3 separate regions of the Homo sapiens genome follow, and regions 1 and 2 are each linked to region 3. The links are contacts of gene promoters, found by promoter capture Hi-C in blood cells and fetal thymus (Javierre and others, 2016). All regions are on one chromosome and are shown on one strand. Each heading gives the region's core, a stretch centred on a gene start or on the middle of the fragment in contact. The rest is flanking DNA. Distances are from core to core; before and after follow the strand shown. Region 1 overlaps SLX4IP (SLX4 interacting protein). Region 2 overlaps SLX4IP (SLX4 interacting protein). Region 3 holds the start of ANKEF1 (ankyrin repeat and EF-hand domain containing 1).

What was found. Contacts are between HindIII fragments. The CHiCAGO score rates a contact against its expected background, and 5 or more counts as called.
Region 1: a fragment that was not itself captured here is called in contact with the fragment with the promoter of ANKEF1 in region 3 in 2 of 17 cell types (non-activated CD4 T cells and naive CD8 T cells); the score reaches 5.4 in non-activated CD4 T cells.
Region 2: a fragment that was not itself captured here is called in contact with the fragment with the promoter of ANKEF1 in region 3 in 3 of 17 cell types (naive CD8 T cells, total CD8 T cells and total CD4 T cells); the score reaches 7.7 in naive CD8 T cells.

Annotation. Positions count from the first base shown.
Region 1 is chr20:10,574,398-10,578,852 of GRCh38, forward strand. All of the region lies in intron 4 of SLX4IP (SLX4 interacting protein), which reads left to right. Among named protein-coding and RNA genes, the nearest start is that of MIR6870, 73 kb to the right of the region's middle. RefSeq lists silencers at 4,204-4,455, 4,231-4,431. The HindIII fragment of the contact is 685 bases long and covers 2,677-3,361 here.
Region 2 is chr20:10,554,086-10,558,108 of GRCh38, forward strand. SLX4IP (SLX4 interacting protein) reads left to right here. Exons shown (of 8, transcript NM_001009608.3): 3 at 2,146-2,235. Among named protein-coding and RNA genes, the nearest start is that of MIR6870, 94 kb to the right of the region's middle. The HindIII fragment of the contact is 6,035 bases long and covers 1-4,023 here.
Region 3 is chr20:10,033,659-10,037,600 of GRCh38, forward strand. It overlaps ANKEF1 (ankyrin repeat and EF-hand domain containing 1), which reads left to right and starts at 1,329. Exons shown (of 11, transcript NM_022096.6): 1 at 1,329-1,675; 2 at 1,921-1,984. The region is part of intron 3 of SNAP25-AS1 (SNAP25 antisense RNA 1); the gene reads right to left. RefSeq lists a silencer at 1,120-1,669. The HindIII fragment of the contact is 1,358 bases long and covers 737-2,094 here.

The DNA.
Region 1 (4,455 bases), core at 1,769-4,268, 540 kb after region 3:
TCTCACCCATCTGAACCCACTACCCCACACATCAGAAAGATAATTTTTCCATCATAAAACAAAGTTCATATTGCCTTTGTTCTGCTTCAAATTACAATGCCAGTTCTGATGGAGCTTTTATGGTGACACAACTCCAGTATTACTTTTGCATCTGCTTGGGCTTGTTCACATTTACAACCAGACTTTCGGCATATCTGGGAACTGGAAAGCTCACAACAGCTCTACCAAATACCCCAGGACTCTTAGATTCTTGAAAGATCTCTGTTACCAAATGCTACTTTCCAAGACTTTTTTTCTGAGATGGAGTTTCACTCTTGTTGCCCAGGCTGGAGTGGTGCAATCTCAGCTCACTGTAACCACCACCTCCCAGGTTCAGGTGATTCTCCTGTCTCAGCCTCTTAAGTAGCTGGGATTACAGGCACGTGCCACCACGCCCAGCTAATTTTTGTATTTTTAGTAGAGACGGGGTTTCTCCATGTTAGCCAGGCTGGTCTCGAACTCCTGATCTCAGGTTATCCACCCGCCTTGGCCTCCAAAAGTGCTGGGATTACAGACGTGAGCCACCGTGCCTGACCGCAAGACTTTTTTTTAATGAGTTGTTCCAGTTAGCTCAGAGCCCTGCCCTCTCATTAGCTCCATGAAGACTGATGACTTATTACTACATATTCCAAAGACAGGTCCCCACTGGGGTCAGGTAGAACTGGTTGGCATTCCTGCCCCACTAGGAGTAGGAGGAAAAGTAATAGGAAGGAAAATCACTTGCCCTTAAATTGATGTGGGGTGAGATTAAAAACATTTCTTTTGGTGATCTGTTCGGTCACAGTATTTCTAACGATGACAACTGGATGGGAGGCCTGTAGTTCCATTTTACCCAGCAGAAGAGAACAGTCCTGACCCAGTGAAAGTCATTTATTCCAGCATGTTGGGAACATAGTACCTGGGGCACTGGTTTTATATTGTCTGAACGGTTTAGCTGCCACATAGCATTGGGTAATAATGTATTGGGGTGAGGGCTGGGGCATACAGGGAGACAGTGAGACCCCTACAAGGCTGTACTTTCCTTTGACACATTCCAGGTGAAGTCTTAGAAGGCAGCAACTTCTCCTGTGTTTGACAGATAATAATAATCAGGAAAGCTCTCCCTACCCCCCACCCCCAATATAACAGTGGCTGCTTCTCATAGGAGTAACATACATATTTTTAATATGTAGGATGACAAGGTATAGTGGGAACTGTTTACCTTAGCATGTACTGTTTGTTTCTCAAGAATTTCAGGTCCATTACACCTTAGCAATGAAAAGCCTTCTCTTATCTAGGAAGTACTTGTAGCATTCACCAGCTTGTCTGTTCCTTTTAATTTTTTTTTTTTCCTTTGGCCAGGACCTCCCATCATAATGCCCGGATTTTCAAATTTCTAGTAATTGAGTTTCACATTCCTAATATTAACACCCATAAGGAAGCTGGAAGGAGAAAATGGATACTAGTTATCTTACCGACTAAATATCAGTAAGAGCCCTTTGATTTTGAAGTGTTTGAAGGATGAGTGAAGAGGCCTTGTTTAGGATAGTACACTGTGGTCTAACACATTGGGACCGTGATTTGCTACCTGAATATCTTGGGAATTTGGGGGATTCTAACCCAAGTGTTGATTAAAAACAAGAGAGCTTTCATTTTCAAATTCCCTAACATGACACCCTAATTATTCTAATTATTTGGAATAAAAGTGGATAACCTACAATTGTGAAGTTTTATGGTTACTAAATATTTTAGTTAACCACTTCAGTTGTTCATGATCAAAATAATTTTATATTCATTATAATACCTTCTATAAACTGGGCAGGGGAATTGACTCCCTTTGGTACGATAGACATTTATACTGTCTCTAAGTGAATTTGCCACAGATTCAGAGTGAGGTGCTTATTTGTGAAGCATTAAGAATCCCTGGGCTGTTCCCAGGGAGTTGAGTAGAGGCATGGTGAATAACTGTTCAGGTACACCTAATTGTATAGCTTGTTTATATTTGTTGTTGTACCACAATGCCCTTATTACTTAGAGCATAAACTCCAATCAGATTCACATTTATTTTAATTATTTGATCATGAACCACATAACCTAATGGGAAACTTGGCCTGATCTGTTTTGTGAAATGTCTTGAGAAAATTATCCATGCCTACATTAAGCAAAAACAAAACTAACTCCACATGATCTCACGCATAAAAAATGAATGCCTGGAAAAGATGCTAGTTTTAAGTTTTAGGCCAAGATTGAATTTCAATTCTGGGTCATAGATTAATGTATGTGTCCAAGTAAATGTGTATATTTGTGTGTTTGTGTGTGTGTATGTAATGAATGAATAGATAAGTATATACCCACAATATAAGTTGCTGCTAAAGAAAATAAAAGTTATAAGACCTGAAAGGGGACACCAAAAATATGATTTCCTTACAAATATTTTCAGGAATTTTACTTAATTGCAACCAGAAGTCTGACCTGGAAGTGTAGTGTTTTGACCCCCCTAGCTGTCTGGTTTCCTATTTGCGGTGTTTTTTTTCTCCCCCAACTGTGAGAAAATATATTTTACACAGTTTTAACCCTGTGTATTCTTAGAAACACTGAAATAGAAAGTATTCCTCTGCGGGGAAGAAATTCTCATTATTTACAAGAATGATTTGCAAAAGCTTCACTTAAATAGAAAATATTTTTTAAAAACTTAACAAATCCTTATTAGATATATTTGAAAATAAAACAGCTTCTTGGTTGCCCTTCAAGGTAGTGTGAACTTCTAGAAGACTGAGATTTTTGTATTGTTTAAGTTTACCCTTATTTTAGTAAAATACTAGTGTTTTCATAACAAAAGTGTACAGAATTTATAAATAATGCCCTTATGATGAGGGTTTTTCATGCTTTCCCCCCTTCATTTTTAGCTTATTCAATCTTTTTTTCCTCTAGCTTTTTATAAAAGTGAAAATTAGGCTGAGTAAACTTAGGAAGGCTGTAGTACTATATAGTATTCTAATGAACTGAAAGATAACAATAAGGCCTGGCATGATGGCTCACTCTTTTAATCCCAACACTTTGGAGACCAAGGCAGAAGGATTGCTTGAGACCAGAAGTTCAAGATCTACCTGGGCAACATAACAAGGTTCTGTCTCTACAAAAAAACATAAAAATAAATTAGTTGGGTGTGACAGCACGTACCTCTAGTCCTAGCTGCTCAGGAGGCTGAGGCAGGAGAATGGCTTGAGCCCAGGAATTCGAGGCTGCCGTGATCTATGATCATACCACTGTACTCCAGCTGAGGCAACAGAGAAAGACCCTGTCTCTTTAATGATAATAAGAAATGAATGAATGACAACAATGAAGCTTAATTAGGATGACTGTAGGGCCAGGAAGCCTACTGTTGGAAAATTATAGAATTCACCATCAAATACTCATAGATTGATTTGCTGAATCAGTCAAAATGATGAGAAACATTGTTTCCATATTTCCATTGTAGCCTCTTGTTGTTTACCAGTGTGGTGGAATAATTATATATCTCGTTTTTTAAATCTCAGACATTTTCACTTACAGGAAAGCCTCATTCTTCCTAACTATTTAGTTGAGAGATTTAAAAATGAGGAACACAGTTGTCAACAATCCATTTAGCTGAAGAATACTTCTCATTTTTTTAATAACAGCTTTATTGAGATATAATTCATATACAATTCACCTGTTTAAAGTATACTGTTCAATGGTTTTTATGTATTCAGAGTTGTGTAACCATCACCAGAATCAATTTGAGAACATTTTCATCACTCCAAAAGAAACCCTTTACCCATTAGCAGTTACTCTTCATTTTCCCCAATACCCCAGCCACAGACAACCAACCACCAGCTTACTTTCTGTCTCTATGGATTTGCCTGTTCTGGACATTTCATACAAATAGAGTCATACACCATGTGGTTCTCTGTAACTGGCTTCTTTCACTCAGCATAATGTTTTCAAGATTCGTTCATTTTATAACACATATCAGTAGTACTTTATTTCATTTTATTACAAATAATGTTCCATGGTATGGATCTATCATATTTTGTCCATTCATCAATTGATGGACATTTGGGTTGTTAACCACATTTGGCTATGATGAATAATGCTACTATGGGTATTCGTGTACAAGTTTTTGAGTGGACATATGTTTTCATTTCTCATGGCTATATACCTACGAATGGAATTTCTGGGTCATTCTGTACCTGTATGTTTAACATATTGACGAACTTCCAGACTGTTTTCCAAGTAGCTGCAGCATTTTCTGTTCCTGCCAGCAGTGTATGAGGCTTCTATTTTCTCCACATCCTTAGCCACACCTGTTTGTCTTTTTGACTATAGCTGTCCTGTGTGTATGAAGTGTTATCTCATTGTGGTTTTGATTCCATTTCCCTGATGACTAATAATGTTACCATCTATTCAAGTACTTAC
Region 2 (4,023 bases), core at 486-2,985, 520 kb after region 3:
ACATACAAAGTTCCTTTGTGACAGTTCTCACCCAGTTTTTTACCCCCCTGGGAAATTACTGTTTTGATTCCTTTCATCACACGTTGATTTTGCTGTTTTAGAATTATATATAGATGGAACCATACAGTATATGTTATTTTGGTCTGGTTTCTTTTGCTCAACCTAATGTTTTTGAGATGAATACATGTTGAGTCTATCGGTAGTGTGGTGAGTAGTGTTCCCTTGCATGAATATGGCACAATTTGTTCTCTTGTTGTAGACTTTTGGGTTGTCTTCACGTTGGGTTATTATAAATAAAACTTCCATGAATATTTGCATACAAGTCTTTGTGTGCACATATACTTCATCTCTCTTGAGTAAACACCTGGGAAGGAATCATTGGCTCAGTTGATAAGTAAATGTACGTTTAGCTACAGGAAACTGACAAACCCATTTGCCAGAGTGGTTAGACCATCTTACATTTCCACTGGGAAAGTATGAGAGTCTGGGTTGTTCCATATCCTTACCAACATTTCATGTTATGTCAGTCTTTTTAACTGTAGTCATTCTGGTGGGTATTGTAGTTGTATCTCTTGGTGGTTTTAATTTTAATTTGCCTGATGACTAATGATATTGAACACTTTTTTCATTTTCTTATTAGCCATTCATTTATCCTATTTGTGAAGTGTCTATTCAAACTCAGGTTTTTTGTTTTGCTTTTTTTAAAAATATCAGTTTGTAGGAGTTCTTTACATATTTTGGGTACCAGTCCTTTTTGCCAGATACATGTATTTTTGAATACATAAATACATTTCTCCCAGTCTGTAACATACCTATTTATTTTATTAGTGGTGCTTTTTTCGTTAACAGAAATTTTTAATTTTGAAAATTTAACAATTTTACAACTATTTTTCTCAATATTTGGTGCTTTCTGGATCCTAAGAAATCTTTTCCTATTCCAAAGATCAGGAAGATAGTTTTGGCTTTTTTGTCTAGGTGTGTGATCCATCTCAAATTAAATTTTGTATATAGCGTGAGGTAGGTGTCAAGTTTCACTTTATATTTACATCTGATGGTCTAACCATTTGTTGAAACTACTTTCCTTTCACTGTTGATATATAGGACAGAATTTAAAAAAAAAAAAACAAAACTGTCCAGCCAAGGAAGTGAAAAAACTGAACCTCTGAGTCTCATAAACCGAATCTCTGGGTCTCTCAGACCATCCCCAACCTTGGTGTCCCATTCCTTACCAAATTAGTTTGTTCACAGTTATCTTGTGATTCTCAGAAATTACTTCACTCATATGTGAGGATTTATAAGGCAACAACTTTTCACAGGGTCTGTAACTGTGCTATCCAGTATGGAACCACTAGCTACATGTAGCTACTTAAATTTAATTTAAATTTTATTAAAAATGTAGCTTATCAGTTACAATAGCCACATTTTAAGTGCTCAGCAGCCACATATGGCCACATACGGCCACATATGGCTATCTTATTGAACAGCATATATATAGAATATTTCCATTATTTTCTAAAGTGCTGGACAGCGCTAGCCTATAGAATAAGAACAGAGTCAGGCTTTGTACAGTTTTGTAGCATACTTTAATGAATTTTGTTTTGTTTTGTTAACTAGCATTCAGTATGTATCTTTATCTTCTTGCTTATTTCTCATTCTTCCATGTTCCTATTTCAATTCCAAAGTGTACCGTCCTAGCCAATCCTTTTGTCCGTCTAAAAATGCAGTATCTTATATCTGTTATTTGCTGCTTAGAAGAAAGAATTCCCCTGGCTGTGCATGGAATCATTCTTTTGTGGAGCCTACCTAGTACTGACCTATTTAACTTCTCTCGATGCTTCACGTCTTCCAACTGCTGCCGGGATGCTTGGACATCCCCTTTCAAGGTGCAGCCCAGAGACAGATATTTTGTCTTTCCTGTCTTGATTAACATTGCATCTCTCCTTAGCATTTCCACTGTAAATGTTAAACTTAGGGAAAGTAGTAGATTATGACCTGTAACCATGTTCTTTATTAAAAGTTCTGTCTAGTAGTGAACTTTGTTGCCATTTCATCATGAGCAACCACATAGGAATTTGTGAGATTTTCTCTCATTGTTTGCTGGGCATGAGCCGCACAGACACTGACTCTGCCATTAATGTCTTTCAGTGTGGGAATTTTGCTGTCCTCGTGGATCTTCATATCTTGCCACAAGGTTCAAACAAAGATACAAGCTGGTTTTCTGAACAGAAGAAAGAGGTACAACAAAACTTTCTACTATTTAATTGCAAGTAGCTGCTGCTGCTATAAGAAATATCAGCTCTTTCCAGCTTTCATTTCTGTTAGTGGGAAAAAAATGTTGCGTATTTAATCCTTGAAAAACAATTGTATTCCCAATGACAGACACATATGCACCCACTTTTTTTTTCCTTCAGAAACTGACACATTCATAAACTTCATATGATACTGTATTATTTAAACCAGACATTTTATACCTCTTTGTTTTGGGGGAAGGATTTCTATATATTCAAAAAGAGGAGAAGAAGAAGAAGAAGTTAAAGTGACTATTTCAGTAATCAGGGATTTTAACCTGACTGGTTGTGAAGGATGGCCTGAGCACCTGAAGCAGGTGTGGCAGTTAACACAAGGCTGAACCTTCACACCCATCTTAAAGCCTCAGCTTTTATTTTCTATCATCCTTGTATTATCATGAGCCTTTGACAAGTCAGGAAATACTTGACGGTGTTCCTTCTCACAATGGTCAGTCAGGAAAGCCAGTAGCCGGGGGCTTAGCAGAGCATGATGCTGGACTTCACTGAGCCTCAGCCTCCTCATCTGAAAGTGAAGAGGTTTGCCTAGATGCCAAATTCACTCCTGGTTCTAAGTTTCAACAATCCCACCCAAGTGCTGCTTGTGGTGGAGGCTTACAAGCTGCACTGAGCTCTCACCATTGCTTTGCCTCCTTCTCTGATCCCTGCTCACCAGAGAGCAGGAGTAACCAGCTTGTGGCTTTTACACACCTTTAAAAATATCATTATCCGTGATGTCCATTTACCACAGTTGCTTTTTAGACTGAGAAATAAAAATCAGATTTGTTAAAATATAGTATATGGCGAAGAAACTATTGACAGTGGTGAAAAAACAAAAAGCCACCCTTTTCTGTGATAATTGCTTTTAATTAGCTTTTGGAGCTCACTAGAAAAAAGATCCCCACCCCCCAAAAAAGATTTTATAGGATAATACATTTTCATTCAAAGGATAATATTATCAAGACTTTGCTGTCATTATTTTGCAAAGAATACCTGGTGACCTAAAGCTGAGAAAAGGAAGGCACAAGGTTCTGTATGGTGGGATTTATCATTCAGGTAAATAACTGTGGACTCTTCTCTTCAGGACTTTTAAATATTTAGCAAGTCAATCAACATCTCCTACTGCCACTTACCTTCATATAATTCCACTCCTAGCTTACTAACGCATGTTGCTGTGATTCAAAACTGTTCACTCGTTTCCCCAAAGTGACCAATAGTCACCCAAGGGGACCTCACCCCAAAATCTTCTGACTTGACTTAAATTAACAATGTTATGGAATCCACCATTCCAGGCCTGTTCTCCATTCCCTTTCGGCTTTGCCACCTTAGACCTTTATCGGCCTTAGACCTTTCTTGTTAATATTGAGTCCGTTTTGCCCAAGATTCAGTTAATTTGGAATGCTTTAGAATAAAGCCCTGGGTGTGTGAATCACCTCATAGCCAAAGCGTGAGGCTAGGTTTTTGTTTTTTTAGGAGCCACATGCAGCTGCGTGGATGCTCATAGTACCTACTTGAGGGCAGCAGGGCATGACTTAGCAAAGCTGTGCAGTGCATGACAGGACCTGCAGAGCAGTGCTGCACTGGCAGCTGCAAGGGGCAGGTCGCTGTAGCAGGCTGAGCTTGCCTCTCAAAACCAAATGGTCGGTTTGCTGCTGCTTCTTTAATTTGCCCTTTTAAAATGTATATTGGCCAGGTGCAGTGACACACACCTGTAATCCCAGCACTTTGGGAGCCCAAG
Region 3 (3,942 bases), core at 79-2,578:
CTTTTCCTTTTTCCTTTATTTTTCCTAGCTTTCTTTTTCTTTAGCTATGGTATTTCTTTAGCTATGGTATGGTATGGTATGTACTTTCCATATATCATACAGTATATTTTGGTGTGCATGAAATAGTCCTTAATAACATTTTTATTATTTTTTATTTGACGTTTAAGTTCAGGGGTACATGTGCAGATTTGTTATATAGGTAAACTTGTGTCATGTGGTTTTGTTGCACAAATTATTTTCTCACCCAGGTATTAAGATTAGTACCCATTAGTTATTTCTCTTGATCCTCTCCCTCCTCCCACTCTCCACCTTCTACCCTCCAATAGGCCCCAGTGTGTGCTGTTCCCCTCTATGTGTCCATGTGTTCTCATCACTTAGCTCTCACTCATAAGTGAGAACATGCAGTATTGGGTTTTCTGTTTCTGCGTTAGCTTGCCAAGGATAATTGCCTCCAGCTCCATATTCCTGCAAAAGACATAATTTTGTTCCTTTATATGGTTGCATAGTATTCCATGGTGTATATGTACCGCATTATCTTTAGCCAGTCTATCATTGATGAGCACTTAGGTTGATTCCATGTCTTCGCTCTTAACATTTTTAAACAGTCTCTGAGTAGAATAGGGTAGGCTGGTGTAAGGAATTACTGTTTTTAATTGGAAGCAATTACATACTGCATTAAAAAGCATATATATATAGACACACATATATATGTTTTACATTCACATAATCAAACCAAAGCTTTCAGAATTTTCCGCCAAAAAGCATGTGTGGAGGGAGAGAGAGGGGTGTTATGGTGCATTTGTAGGCCCTGAAATAAAGTGATCTCCATATTTGCTTCCATTTGTGTATAAATATTTTTTAAGCATATATGCATCCTAGAGTATGGAAAGAAAATTTCTGGGAAGATTTGCAAGAATCTGTGGCAGTTGAGAGTAGGTTCACTTTCGCTTTATTGTGTAATTTATTGTATTTTTCATTTAATTGTACTTTGTAAACTAAATATTTATTGTATATTTTACTTCATTTTTTAATTGCCATATGCAGCTTTAATTTTATAACTAAATTACGTTCTGACCCAGGGCAGGAGGTGGGAGAAGAGAATGAGAGAAGGGCGGAATCCTCAAGACAGCAGCATTCTGCGCTCCGCCCTGGAACACCCAGCGCAGCTACCCCATCCCGCCCAGGCCGGCCACCTGGCGTCGAAGCCAGGCGCGAGGGGCGGAGGCGGAGGCGGGGGCGGGGGCGGAGGCGGAGGCGGAGGCGGAGGCGGAGGCGGAGGCGGAGGCGGAGGCGGAGGCGAGCACCGCCCCACCGCGCACGCTGCGGTTGCCCCGGCAGCCGCGCCCTGCGTGGCGGAAGCTCACAATCAGCCCGGTCCCTCCGGCTTCCACCCCGCCCCCTGCGCTCACCTGCCCGCGCGCTCGCCTTCCGGGGACCCGGGGCCCATGGACACATACACCCAGCCCTGCTGTCCCGCGCGCCAGCTCACCAGCCCTACCCAAGGGACATCATTCACGCCTGGGCGCCTCCGCCGGGCTCCGGGAGCCCAAGGTCGCGGCTGGGCCAGCGCTGAGCGTCAGAGGACGAGAGCAGGGGCCTCCCCGGTCGCCCCAGCAGGCCCAGGCACATAGGTGCCCAGAGATCCCTGGCTTCTGATCGCCCGGAAGACTAAGAGGTGAGCATGACACATGGCTTTTCCTTTGACGTTACATCTCTACCCCCTCCACTCCTCTCTTCTCCAGATTTTTCTGGAGACTAAAAAGTGGAAAGCACAGTAGAGAACCCCCAACATGTAAACTATCGCTTACACTTGTGGGTGAGCTGAAACCCGCAAAAGTTTGGTGTATTCATAAGGAGCCTATATTGAAGGACTTTGCTAAATGTTTTACAAGGATCATATCTCATTTCCTTTTCACACAGTCCCATGAAGTGGGCACCATTGCTATTGCCAGTTCACAGATGCAGAAACTGAGGTAAAAACTAGGTAGGTAGCATATCCATATTTATATCCAACTAGTTTGTGTAAATAATGATACAGGGAAGGGAGGATCACAACGGATTTCCCCACCTCAAACCCTACATTCCACTGTACCAAGCTTGTCTTCCTCCATTCCTCTTTCTAATGATCCTTCCTTGTCGCACAGCCCCCCTTTGAGAGTTAAATGACCTGAACACACACAGATTCCCACAGATTTTCATGTAATTTCCGAGTATTCAGACCCCGAACATGGACCTCAAGTCAAGACATTCTGCTCTATTCCACTACCTTGGTAGATGGTTAGATGTGACTAAGGTGGCCCAGGGTCATGCTGGGGAAAAGTACAGGTGTGCTTGTATGTGGAGGATCCTATATGCTGCTCAATTTACAAGGAACCCAGGACCCAAGGGCTACACTTGTGTGATTTCCTGCAGTGGGGTGAGCTCTTGGTCAGTCTTAGCAGTTGATTGTGAAGGACACTATACAGGGTGCTGCCCTCTCCCCAGCACTTCAGGGCTTTAGCTGGGAGGGAGGCAGTCCACAGGAAACCGACCCATGGACCTACTGAATTCATCACTGTAGCTGCTAATTAATTCTCCGTTAGAGATGGGTGCTAACAGAGGCAACATTGAAGTCCCTGATTGGGAAATCCTTATTTTCACAAATCAAGTGGCATTGATTCAGTCTAATCATTACCTATGTAGGAGCATCTTGCCCTATTCCATAGATGACACATATACATATGCAGTATGATGACACCGCACCTAATCGGAATATGGCCGATAATAATAAAACAAGCCATAAATAGCAGCTAAGGTGAGTGTCACCAAGCCGTGCAGCAAAGTCCAAGTGGATGACTCTGAGGCAGCCTCAGTTGGTTCCCTAGTCCACCGCATGTTATAAACAGATTAAAAGGCAAAGGAGGCCTGGCCCGGTGGCTCACGCCTGTAGTCCCAACACTTTGGGAGGCTGAGGCGGGTGGATCACCTGAGGTCAAGAGTTCAAGATCAGCCTGGCCAACATGGTGAAACCCTGTCTTTACTAAAAATACAAAAATTAGCCAGGTGTGGTGGTGGGCACCTGTAATCCCAGCTACTCGGGAGGCTGAGGCAGGAGAATCGCTTGAACCCAGGAGGTGGAGGTTGCAGTGAGCCGAGATTGTGCCACTACACTCCAGCCTGGGTGACAGAGTGAGAGTTGGGCTGAGGGTCGAGGGTCATGGGATAGGGCGAGACACCAGGGGAGTGTGTGAGGACAGAAAAGAGTCTTGAGGACCTAGCCCTGGGCACCCAACATAGGCTTCTTGAAATGGGGAGTCAGCAAAGGAGCCTGAGCAGGAGGGGGCATTGGTGTTGGATGGAAGCAGGCGATGGAGATGTTGTGGTGCCTAGAGAGACACATTTAAAGGAGAGAGAGCTCACTGCCGTAGAGAATGTAGGTGAGGGAGCAGGCTTGCGATGGAGAAAAATGGTGCATAGTTTCAACTTTTGTAGTAAGATGGAATCTTTTCATTGCAAATGTTGGAAACTTAGCTAACTAGCTTATACCAAAATAAGGTGACGGGGGAGAAGATGTATTTACCCACAAAGTGGTAGATGGCTTCTGGCACCATGGAATCCATGTTGCAACTAATGCCATCAATCTCAGTCTCTCTCCATCCTCCAAGCATGGACTCTCTCTGTGGCACCCAAGAGAGCTACCTGCGCCCCAGCCCCACACCATACTGCTTAACAACTTCAGCAGAATAGTCTTCCCTCATAGTTCTGGATGATGGGCTGCTGATTGGTTGATGTCTTTTATGCACATATGCTTGAGCTTCAGTGTACCTGGAAAGGGATGGTTCCCTCAAATGGGCCAAGCCTAGGCCACAGACGCTTTCCTCTGGCAGGGGACAGAAGGGACAGCCCCATCCAAACGACCCGGATAGGATTCCCTATGTGATAATGGAGTTCTTTTCTCATAAG